Regions from separate parts of the Homo sapiens genome. Here all the other regions are linked to region 3. The links are contacts of gene promoters, found by promoter capture Hi-C in blood cells and fetal thymus (Javierre and others, 2016). All regions are on one chromosome and are shown on one strand. Each heading gives the region's core, a stretch centred on a gene start or on the middle of the fragment in contact. The rest is flanking DNA. Distances are from core to core; before and after follow the strand shown. Region 1 overlaps LOC107987207 (a long non-coding RNA gene). Region 2 overlaps LOC105370656 (a long non-coding RNA gene). Region 3 holds the start of BCL11B (BCL11 transcription factor B).

Region 1 (3,973 bases), core at 1,346-3,845, 1.1 Mb before region 3:
CTATATTTGCTCTTGGTTTTCTTCCCAGATGCTCTGTCAGACAGCACTTCTTAGCACAAATACAGAATACAAAATAACTCAGACCGCCTTTCAAGAGCCCTCAGGAAGCTTTGGGGTGACATTTTAACTGCCTCTTCACTTGGTCTCAGGCCTTGTTTTTTATTTATTTAAACATCCATCATAATCTGAGTACCAAGAATATGACCAGGCATGGACCAGCAGCTGAAAACGCAGAAGATTAAAGACACGGCAAACACTCATACACATACATGCACAGATTTGTTCACACAAACACACATATATGCACATGCACACACACACACACACACACACATATGCACACGCAAACATGTCCCACCTGTGGAAACAATAGTCAACTGGGGAAGCTACCCAGCCTGCTCACTGACCACTTATTACATATGCACCCAATGCTGTGTAAGGCACTTCACTTTTTTGCAAATGTGGCTTCATTTTTTTCTCACAATTCTTTTTATCACTATATATTGTGAAATTACCATCTTGGTGTGCGTGGATGTGTTTATAGTTTTGTTCTCACCAGGTATGCATAACCTGTTGATGGAAGAGCCCTGTCTTATTAACCCTTGCATTCGTGTTCATTGATTCACCCTCAAAATGTTTATTGAATGTCTAATATAGGTCAAGCACAGGCTAAATACAGACTTGGGGATGTGATTTTTGCAAGAATAAATAAATGAATGAACACAAGATGAAGAGACTAGGGAGAGAGCAGGAGTGGAGGCGTTGGGATGAAAGTCCTTGTCATCTTCCTGAGAGGAGTTGAAGAGCTTGCACTCAGCAGAGACAAAGGGATGGAGCCTTTGAGGTGGTTTACTGTGCTGAGATCCAGCTCTCCATGAGGAACCATGGACCAGGGGCAGGCCCATCCACCCCTTTCACTATCACTATTCACATCTGTAAAGTGATAGCTGTGAGTCTCTACCCCATAAGGGTCATTGGAACATTGGAGAAGCTCTGACATGTAAAACAATTAGCCAAGTGCCTGGACATCCCCAGTAAAGTCTAGTGATTATTAAGAGTATAAATAGATGCACAAGCAGACTAAACAAGCATTTGGAAATATGTGCATTTGCATAAACATATTGGTAATTAAACAAAACAACAACAAAAAAAAAAACCAGAAGAGAGAGAATTACATAACCAAATCTCACCCTTTATGATTTTAACTCTCTTCCATCATCTGGAGAGAAGTCTTTGCAAGTTCTGCAATAGAATCTTAACCTATCATTAGAAAACTTCCTTGAAGGTTGAGGGACTCTGGCCCAGCCTCTGGAATCATTTGGATACCCCTGTGTCCGGACCCTGGCCTTTCCCACCCCTACCCTCACCACCCCCATGGAGCAGACTCTCCTTTTCCTTCAGGGCTGATAGTAAAAGACATATAGTTCCAGGTCCCCTGAGCTGGAGGGTAATCCAGCTCACCAATTACTTGAAATTAAAGTCAGGTAATTTGAACCCATCTGTTGGACACCTGACCACAAACCACCTCTTAGCTAACCCTGAGCTGGATCCGATTACTCCCCAAGTGCCTGCCCGGCTTCATTATGCCACGGCCATGGGAAGGGAGGAAACCAAGAGGTTACTGGGGTCTTCAGTTAGCGCTTTGTCATTAGCGTGGTTATTACCCGAGTCCTCCCTCCCAGCAGACTTCAAGATATGGGAGATGGGAGGGCTAGCTGGTAACCGGACCAGAGGCTCCCAGGTCTCACCAGATGGAGTGGAGCCTTCATCAGAAGGGCCAGCAAAGGGCAGGCAGCTCCCCAGACAGGAGTGGGTGGATTCCAGGAGGCCAGACTAGGACTCCGTGGCTCCATCTCAGATGTGCTACAGATGGTTCTTAGGGGCAATTATGGGGAACAGGGCAAAGCCTGGACACTGGCATCTGTAAGTCTGGGTTTGATAAATAGATCTGCCCCTTAATAGATACTGGGAAGTTTCTTGAACAACAAAGCCTCAAGTTCTTTGCCAATACAATGAAAATTGTGGAAATTAACTTAGACTGCCTTTCTAGAACCAGAGCAGACTCAGAAGTCTCCATTAAAGGGGAGTGTACCTGGACAGTGTCACGAAAGCCAAAACAGAGGGAATTCAGTCACCGGGTATTGAGGGGCTCAGGGGCAAGTACCCTGTCTCTATTCTAGGAATTGGAAATCAAAGCTCACAGAGGTTGAGCTCTGATCAAAGAAGGATGAGTAGATGGAAAATCCACTGTATAGATGCAGATGTAGCCATACCATGGGCAAGCGAATGGGGAGAAAATAGATATCAGATTCTGGAAATGTAGATAGGGATAACATTGCCTTTCTTCCACAGTGTCAGATGGATTCTCAACCCTGTGACCCCATTCTTGGTAGCAGAGTTTTCTTAGAGAAGTCTTTAATACCACAAGAATATGATTACCCATTTCTCCCAAATATGATTACATTTTCAGCTCCATTCTGCATTTTTTCCCTCTGGAAAATTGAGCATCTTATGCCCAAGAAAAAATGATAAAACTCCATTTGACTTCACTAGGGCAGAACTAAGACGGTTTTTGAACTGAAATTAAGTTGATACATTGAGAGCTTCTGTCATCGTAATACAACATCAGGAGAACAGGCAGGGAGGAGTTTATCCTAGTAGCGTCCCTCCAAAGTTCTAGTCAAGTGGAGAGGGCTTTTTGATGTATCAAAGACAGTGCTATCTTTCAAACTGCATTCATATTCTAACGTCCTATCATCATTGTAAAATAATGACAGAGCTAACATCCAACTTTTTACATGTATTTATTTATGGTTTTCAGCAGTCAAAGCAAGGAGGCACAGCCAGCTGCCTTTCACATCTGGCTCTAAATGAGCCACGGCACTGGCTCTGTCCACATTTGCTGTATCCATGGTACTGAGGTCCTGGCCTCTCCTCAGTTGGCAGCTGCACTGGCACTTCTCCTCATGGTGGCTGTCCCTCAATATTGGCAAAATACATTCAATCAAATCTGCAGGTGATTAAACTTCAGATGTCTCTGAGCTCAGCAAAGTGAGTGTCTTGATGTCAAAGACGGACAGTGCTTTAAAGCATTCCACTTCAATTTCTTCCTCACTCTCTCCCACTTCCGACATTGCTGATCAGTGGTCACCCAGCCCCTCTTTCCATTGCCCAGTTGATGGGGCGCTCACCACATCACAAGTAGCCTATCAGATCTGCTACCCTTATAAATTAAGACCTGGAGGAGTCAACACCTGCTAGTCTTCCTAACCTCAATCCATGTCACCTCCGAAAGTGCACTGATCTCCAGCCACACTGATCATATTGTCCTGAGCAATGCTAAGCTGCGTCCTGCCTCAATGATAATGAATTTGCTGCTCCCTGCCTGAGAGAGGGGCCCTTTTCATCGCTGCCCACCCCTGCCCTTTGGTGTCAGTTCAGGTGGAATCTTTTCAGGGACACCTTCCCTGACCACCTCATCTACAGTGGCTCTTACTGCCCTGGACCTCTATCCACTCCCGATCCTCTGAGCCCATCTTCATCCCCTTCATAGTACTGCCAATGTGGGAAATGATCTGGCCTATGTATGCATTAGCCTGTGTGTGACTACGTACTGTTTATGCATGTGTTTGCTTGTGCACTACCATATTCTGTTTAAGTACATGTTCACCTGTGTACAATCATATACCGTTTGTCCGTATGTACCTGCTATCTTAGTCTGTTTTGTGCTGCTATAATAGAGCACCACAGACTGGGTGATTTATAAAGAACATAAATCTATTTCTCACAGTTTTGGAGGCTGGGAGATCCAACATCAAGATTCCTATAGGTTTGGTGTCTGTTAAGGGCCTGGTCTCCACTTCCAAGGTGGTGCCTCGTTGGTGCATTTTCAGGGAAAGGAACTCTGTGTCCTCACATGATCCAAGAGCAGAAGAGAAGGGCAAACTCATTCCTGCAATCCTTTTGTATAGAA
Region 2 (4,018 bases), core at 98-2,597, 1.1 Mb before region 3:
GCACCTTTGTATTTGGGGGTGGTGGTGAGATCACAACTAACTCACATTTTTATTTTATGGGACTTCAGATGGGAGAGGGCAGTCTCCAGACTTTATATAGAGACAAAGATGACATTCTGGATTTTGAGTCCAAGATGGATTGGATAGGACTTTTGTCTTTCTTTAGGAAGGAGTGAGCATCTTGTACATGAGCAAAGGAGGAAGGTGAATACTAGAGACCAAGCGGGCAGATGAGGATAGACAGTACTACTCTGAACACATTTTCTGTCCCTTGCAGAAACACACTACTTCCCGCCACAGTAATGTCAGCCTTGACCTTGTGACTTGCTTTGGCCAGTCGAATATGAGTCGAGGTGGTGGGTGCAGCTTATGGACAGAAGTTGCTAGAATCCCTGTGTAGTTCTGCTCTCCTTCATTTTCCCCTTCTGGGAGACCAGCCTGTCCAGATGAAGAGGACACATCACAGAGCCACAGAATTCCTGTGATTCCTTGATGAACAACAATATATGTTACAAATAACCCTGCCTCTCTGTGAACCACTGTGATTTGGGGATTGTTTGTTATTCTAACATAGACTTATCTGACTGATATAAGTAGTCAATTTCTATGATGACCACCATAAATGTCCCTGTTATCAAACCTTCCCTCTCCATCCAAACGGGGGTTGCTTTCACTCAGGTCACCATCATACCCTCCCTTGAGGTTTGTGAAGGGATTCTGTGAGGTTTTCCTTCCCCTTTTCTTGTTACCCTCTGCTCCATTATCCATACTATAGCCAGAGTAATCTCTGCAAAATACAAAACCCATCCTCTCCCTTTCCCCCTGAAACCCCTTCAAAGTCTCCCTGTTCACTCTGAATAGAACCCAAACTGCTCTCTGTTTCTTCCAAATCCCTTCATTATCCAGGCCCTGCCTCTCGGTCCCTGCCATTGTCTCTCTTCACTCTGTTCCAAGCTCACGTGCGTGCCTCAGTTCTGCTCACCTTTGTATCTTTGCACACATGGCTCCATCTGTACTCCTCATTTTACGTTTGGCTCTTTCTCGTCCATTCGTTGCAACCTCACACTTTTCCTCCTCTACACATCCCTGTCTGACTGTCTCTCCCCATGGTCAAAGCTTACTGCCCTTGCTGTGGTTTTGGGCTCCCTGTGGTTGTCTCTATGCTGCCTTGTTCTAGTTTTTTGTGTTTTCTCAGGGCCACAGAACCCAGAACATAGAAGATACTCAGTGAGGTGGATGGATGGAGGAAGTATTGGGATGAGCAAAGCACCTACCATCTTTTCTAACATTTACAGAGATCCTGACCCCCAGGCAATGCTAATGCCAGAGGGATGTGAAAGCAAGTGACAATCCAAATCAGAGGGTTGAAGAGAAAATCTCTGGTCTGTCTGTCCTTGGATTCACTCTCTCCCTGTAGTCTCATCTAGAGATGCAGGGAGTAGCCTGAAAGGAGTGATTCCCTTCCTGTTTCCCTCTTTCTCCCCTTCTCTCCTGTAGCAGCCTCTTGCCTTTTACCTAGTGCATGTCCTTCAAAGAGGGGTAAGAAAGGAGAAGAGTCTAGGAGTGATAGACAAGATAAAAGCTTTAAAAAGTGGCCTCTGGGAACTCAGTGCTCTGGAACCATGTGGTCTGGGGAAGAGAACTCAGTTGGGTGACTTAACATGTCTTCAATTATGCATAAGGGCATGTGGATGCTAATCAGCAGGCGGCTGTCCTTGCTTCACAGCAAAGCCAGGGCGTGGGAGGAAACACTGACTGTGCCATGTGTGAGGGCTGCAGCTGACCCGATCGACTGGTTGACTGGTCAAGTGACATTCATTGAGGTTCCTAAGAGATGACCCCTGGACATGCCACCAAGATGTCTGGTCAGTGCCTGGGAGCAAAGGGAGTAGGCAGAGGGGATTCTTCCAAACACTATTGAAAAGACACAGAGGATTTGCAGATACAGCCATTGTTGTTTATGATTAAATATGATTATCCCAAGTTCTCCCTTGCTTGCCTTTGAGCTCAGGTCCTGCCTTGCCTGCCCTCTGGGGAAGCTGCTCCCCTTCTCTGGGTCTCTGTCTTCTCAATTACAACACGGGCATGTGAATAATAAAGAGTTAACACATTCACTGAACACTTTGTGTGTGCCGGGCACCTTTCTCAATGAACCCTCACTGCACCTCTGTGAAGAAGACATATTGTTATTTTCCTTTTATAGATGCAGAAACTGAGAGAGGTTAAGTCATTTTTCCGTGGTCGCCTGCCTAGAAAGTGCTAGTGCCAAGGCTAAAAACCAGGAATCCCATTGTCAGAGCCCATGCCCTGAGCCATTGCCTCTTAACTGCTTCTCTAATTTTTTTTTTTTTTTTTTTTGGCTAATCAGTCCATATACACGATACACTCCCTTGGTCAGCACTATTTTTCCTATTTTTGTTTGTCTTTAGCATGTCTGAACTCTGCTATATAATGCACCAGTTTGTTCTGTTACTGCTTTTTATGTCTCAGTTCACTAGGGCAGAGACCTTTATCTATTGTGTTCATTAATGTACTCTGAATACCTAAAAAGAGGTTGAGGCATAGCAGGTGCTCAATCAAATTTGAATAAATGAAGGAATGATGGTGAATTGGAACCATGATCCAAGGTAAGGCATTCCATACAATATCCGGGAATCCCATTAGAGTCTGAGAATGTCAGCCACGCTGATAAAGCCAGAGATCCCACCAACGGTCACAGGCTTATCTTCCTTCTGCCTTAAGTTTGGTCACTCTTCTTCAGCAATTCACTCCTAGAGACTGAATATGACAACGATTGAGGGTAAACCACCAACAAAACAATGTGCCCTTCTCCTTGAAGATATTCCCCAGGTTCACTTTGGCAGGGGAGTTGGGAAGGGACCTCAACTCTGGACTTGCACAGAGTTACATGAGTCTCTGGACTCATGTACTTGCCTAGAGACTCCAGCTGTGCCTGACCTCATGGACTCTCTCAGAAAGCACTAGACAGGGGACACATCTCCACATTGAGAAAACCAGACCCTCCCAGGCTTCCTTTGGCCCACATGTGATACCCAGCATCACCATCTAGGAGGTACGCAGGGACCATTCTTTTGCTTGAGAACAGAGGACAAAATGTTCCACAGTGTTTGATGGGAACAGAGCGAGGAGGCGAGTGTAAATTTCAGTATGAATTGATAACACTTAGTCAGCCGGCTTCTAAAGCAAAGGGTATGAGAGCCTAGTAAGTGTCTTGGCCCGATTCACACAGGGGTCAGATGGGCTGCTCCTGGAGGAGAGGATGGGCTCTGAGCATCTCTCAGGGCATGTACCCAGCAGTAGTTCTGATCATTTCCAGGGCACTGACTGTGACCGGCCACCACGCTTTTGTAAAGGCAGGCCCCCGGGGTGGTGGGCTGTTGGTGGAAGTCAGTCTAAGTTGAAGTTTGGAGAAGAAGTGATCTAGGACATCTGATCTGCTTTACACATTAAAATAAAGGTCACAAACCTCAATGCCAATAGCATTCAGTTCACATTAGAAAGAGCAAACTGGCTGGGTGGAGACTAGGGGAATATATAGAGCACATGTTCTGTCTAAATGGGGCAGCAGAAGCTCGATTCCATCCAGTCTTTGCCACAAGAAGTAGGCAAAACTCCAGTTTTTTAAAAAATATTATTATAATTATTATTTTATGAGAAAGTTCCCTATCTACATGTTGGTAATAAGTGAGATTTTAACTCAAAGGAAAGTAAAGTCAGGAGGGAAAAAGTGATGTTCTATTGGGTACCAGCTAAGCTGTGCTGGAACCTCATGTTCATTATCGTCTTTTCCCTACCATTTTTGGAGGAGTACATTCCTGTCCTCATTTCACAGTTGACAAAGCTTTGACAGAGGTTGGAGAAATTATTTGTCCAAGGTTCCATGGCCATTTAAGTGACTGAGAACAGCGAATGCACAGATCTTTTGACTACAAAGTCACACTCTCCAACTGGCAATCGACCATTTTCTAATAGTGAGAGTTGCCCCACAATGGACTCA
Region 3 (3,548 bases), core at 957-3,456:
CGGCGGGCGGGGAGCGCCGCAAAGCCACCTTCCCGGTGCAAGTGTGCGGGGACTCGGGGCGGGTTCCCCTGCAAACACCGTACCTGGCCCGCTCGCGCTCGCTTTTCCCCTCTGCTAAATAAACCCAACAGGGACGGTGGAAGCTGCTGCTTGTCTTGCCCCGCTGCCTGACTTTGCCCGCCCAGCCACATGCTTGAAATCGACACGATTTCAGCCGGTGGATTTCCACTGCGACCTGCCTTGTTTATTTAGATAGGAAAGATGAAAGATACTGAGATAGAAAGATGGATACGAGATTGATGGGTCTCCTTTTTTTCTTTTTTTTCTTTTACTATTTTACAAGCGCATCACTCTCTTCCCACTCCTAACTGACAACCTTTTTTTTTTTCCTCGTGGCGGGGATTTTTCACCAACCCCAATCCCCCCACCTTTTTTGAAGTGGGGGAAAGAAGACAAGATCATCCCAGGAGACAGACGGAGGTGGGGAAGTGGGGGGTGGGGAGGGGGGCTTGAGCCCGGCAAACAGCCGCGCAGCTGGATTATTTTGCAAATAGCAGGAGGAGGGGAGAGAAAGGCGGCTGCGGAATCCTAGGACTGGCGCGGCCGGCACCCTGCTGGGCCGGGCGCAGGGACCGGGGACCCGGAGCCGGCGGCCGCCCCTGGCCCTACGGCTCCCCCAGCCGGAACGCACCCCGCTCTCCTCCGCCCGCGCCGTCAGCGCGGACCCACGCGCTCGCCAACTTTTCCCCACTTCCCGGCTCCCCCTCCCCCTCCGCTCCCCCAGCCCCCTCCCCCTCCTCTCCAAACCCCGCCACCAGCGCCGCCGCCGCCACACACGCCGCTCGGAGGGGCGAGCGTCCAGCCGGGCTCGGCGCGCACACACACACACTCCTCCAGCCTGCATGCCCCCTCCCCGGCCCGGAGCCGGCTCCGCAGGCCCCCGAGCCCGAGGCGCGTCCGGCTGCTCGGCGCCCCAACTCCCCGGGCTGCAAAGAAACTTTCCTATGGCCCCCGCCCCCCGCCATGCTCCAGGCCGACGCCGTAGACTCTGCCAGCCAGCGGGCGGCCCCGGCGCCTGGCCAGGCTCGGCTGTTCCGGGCTCGGTGTCCCCAGCCCCAGACGCCCGGAGCCCCATCTCCGGCCCCTCGCGCGCACTCCGCAGACACTTACGGGTGATGAGCTCCCTCTGGGACAAGTGCTGCGGGTTGCCCTGTTTGCGGCGGGACATTGCCCCGGCATCTATTCTGGCATCGCCCGGAGAGCTGCACTGATGGGGGGAGCCGGGGGAGGGGGTCCGAGCCGCCGCCGCGCCGCTGCCGCCGCTGCCGCCGCCGCCGCCGCCGCCGCACCTCCTCCTCTGCCCGGGTTGGTGTTTTTTTTCCCTTCCTCTCTTTCCCTCTCTTCCTCCTCTTCTTCTTCTTTATTTTGCTCTTTCTTCTATGCTGTTTTTTGTTTTGTTTGCAAAAAGAAAAAAAAGGGAAGAAAAGCAAGAAAAACCTCTCGATCTAAAATAAGAAAAAGAGGCAAAAAAAAAAAAAACTGCTGTTGCTTTCCGCGGACTGGCTGGTTTCTTTAAAAATATATTCTTTCGAAGGAAAAAAAATCTCTTACACTTCTTCAAACTGCTTGGCCTCTTGCACTTGCAAATGTCTTCTTGAACTTAAACTGGGTTTTGCACCGGCTCCTGACACTTTCTTTCAGGGTCTGGTAGGTGGAAAGCGCACTTCTACCAGGAGGGGAAAAAAAATGCAAACAAATAAAAAAATAAAAGAAGAAAAAGCAAAGGAAAAAAAAAAGCAAAGAAAACTTGGGGACTTGTCTCGTACCCCCTCACCCCGCCCCCTCAAAAAACCCAAAGCAATGTAAAACTGCCCCGGTTCGGTTGTTTCTGGGTTTTCTGCGGGCTGCCTGTTTTTGTTTTTGTTTTTGTTTTTTCTCGGAGACTGACCCTTCCGAGGCTCTGGGGGGACACCAGGAGAGGCTCCTTCCCAGTTCACCTGGCAGGCTGGCGCCGGCCGGAGGGGCTGCCGAGTCCCCGCGAGCGCTCCCCAGCGCTCCCCTGGCGCCGCGGGCCCGGGGGGAGCGGGGCGGAGGGGCGGCTCGCCCAGTGCGCCTGGGTCGGTGCGGGCGCAGACTGGGAGCTATAGATTGCAACGTGAAGATGGCGGAGTCCGGGTTCTCTGGGAGCTCTCGGTCTCTCTATGGCTGGGGCTGCCTCTGTACAATGGGATAAAATTCAAGTTCAAGTGCGGACGTGACGTTTAATCTGCACTAGAGACAAAAAGACCCAGAGAGTCGGAGCACTGGGGGCGACTAGCGGTGGCTTTTTAACATTGTACCCTGTAAGAGAACAAGAAAGCACACACAGAGACACACTCGCGCGCGCGCGCACACTCACACACACACACACACAGTCGCCAGTTGCGCACACCCGCAGCCCAAGCCGGACACACGTGCAAACCGCGTTTTTGTGCGCTCATCTCCCCCGAGCCCCGGCTGCGCAACAGCGGGAGGGGGTTGGGGGGGGCCACTGGGCAGCTTATTTTAAAATAAAAGAAAAATCGTCCTTATATCTCCTCCATCCTGGGAGCAGGACCCCCTGAGAAGGGGGGCGGGGTGCTGTGTGAGTGAACTAAATTGAATCAATGCAAGTCTCCACCCACCCAAAAGCTCTTTCGGACTTGGACTTTGGGGGTGGGGGCGTGGACTGTGGAAAAGGGTTGGGGTCGACATGGGAGTTGGGGGGACAGTAAGAATCGCTTCGTTTCCCTGGAAAAGTCGCTTGGTAGTTTTTACTTTTGTTTTATGGTCGCGGGCGGCGAGGGGAGGGGAGTAGATGTTGGAGTTCAACTTCCAAAAAGTGTCTCCATATAAATCCTGGTATTACAGACTCTGGGAGGGTGAGGATGACAAAATAAACGACACTAAGACAACAGAATCAAGAGCACGTGAGGGGGTGAGAAGTGTTTGAGACCTTGTTTGAGTCCCACTTGGAAAAGGATTTTCACTCAAATCTTTGTCCCCTCCCCTCACCTTACCCCGATTAACTCCTGGGGTCAAACACGACCCCACCTCCTAAACTGGGTCTATGGCAAGCGAGAGGGTAAAGGGACCGGGGCGCTCCACGTGGGAGAGGGACTTGGACTTGCCAGCCCAGGAGTAGGTGTGGCCAAATCTCCGCAGATACTCGGGTGGGTGACTCCAGGAGGCGCCCCTGACAATCACAGCAACCTGGAAGTCACACCCCGCCCCCCGCGCTCCTCGGCCCAGGGTAGGACTTGGAAATGCCTGTCAGACTGGGAAGGACGCAGCTGCCTTGTCAGCCGTTTGATCTCCAACCGGCGAGGACAAGAGGAGTTGTGGGGCCTCTCCGTGGCCCGGGGACAAGGCCAGACCACGGCCCCCGTGGACACCCCCCATTCCCCAGGCTGTGGCCAACTTTGTCAATTTGATGACCTGGCCTCCAGGGCTGGGCGCGCCACGCGGCTGGCCTCCTCTCCCTTCTCAGGGTTTCTCTGGAGGCGGCCAGGGCGGGTCGGGGCCTGGCT

Evidence for each region. The method cuts DNA at HindIII sites, captures the fragments that hold promoters and counts their contacts. A CHiCAGO score of 5 or more calls a contact.
Region 1: a contact is called between a fragment that was not itself captured here and the fragment with the promoter of BCL11B in region 3, in 2 of 17 cell types (fetal thymus and non-activated CD4 T cells). The highest score is 9.6, in fetal thymus.
Region 2: a contact is called between a fragment that was not itself captured here and the fragment with the promoter of BCL11B in region 3, in 1 of 17 cell types (non-activated CD4 T cells). The highest score is 7.0, in non-activated CD4 T cells.

The regions. Positions count from the first base shown.
Region 1 is chr14:98,199,208-98,203,180 of GRCh38, forward strand. It overlaps LOC107987207 (a long non-coding RNA gene), which reads right to left. Exons shown (of 2, transcript XR_001750875.2): 2 at 2,786-3,960. Among named protein-coding and RNA genes, the nearest start is that of LINC02295, 65 kb to the left of the region's middle. The HindIII fragment of the contact is 4,979 bases long and covers 107-3,973 here.
Region 2 is chr14:98,216,708-98,220,725 of GRCh38, forward strand. The region is part of intron 1 of LOC105370656 (a long non-coding RNA gene); the gene reads left to right. Among named protein-coding and RNA genes, the nearest start is that of LINC02295, 83 kb to the left of the region's middle. The HindIII fragment of the contact is 466 bases long and covers 1,115-1,580 here.
Region 3 is chr14:99,269,991-99,273,538 of GRCh38, forward strand. BCL11B (BCL11 transcription factor B) reads right to left here and starts at 2,207. Exons shown (of 4, transcript NM_138576.4): 1 at 1,171-2,207. The coding sequence starts at 1,228. RefSeq lists a silencer at 2,054-2,133. The HindIII fragment of the contact is 13,366 bases long and covers 1-3,548 here.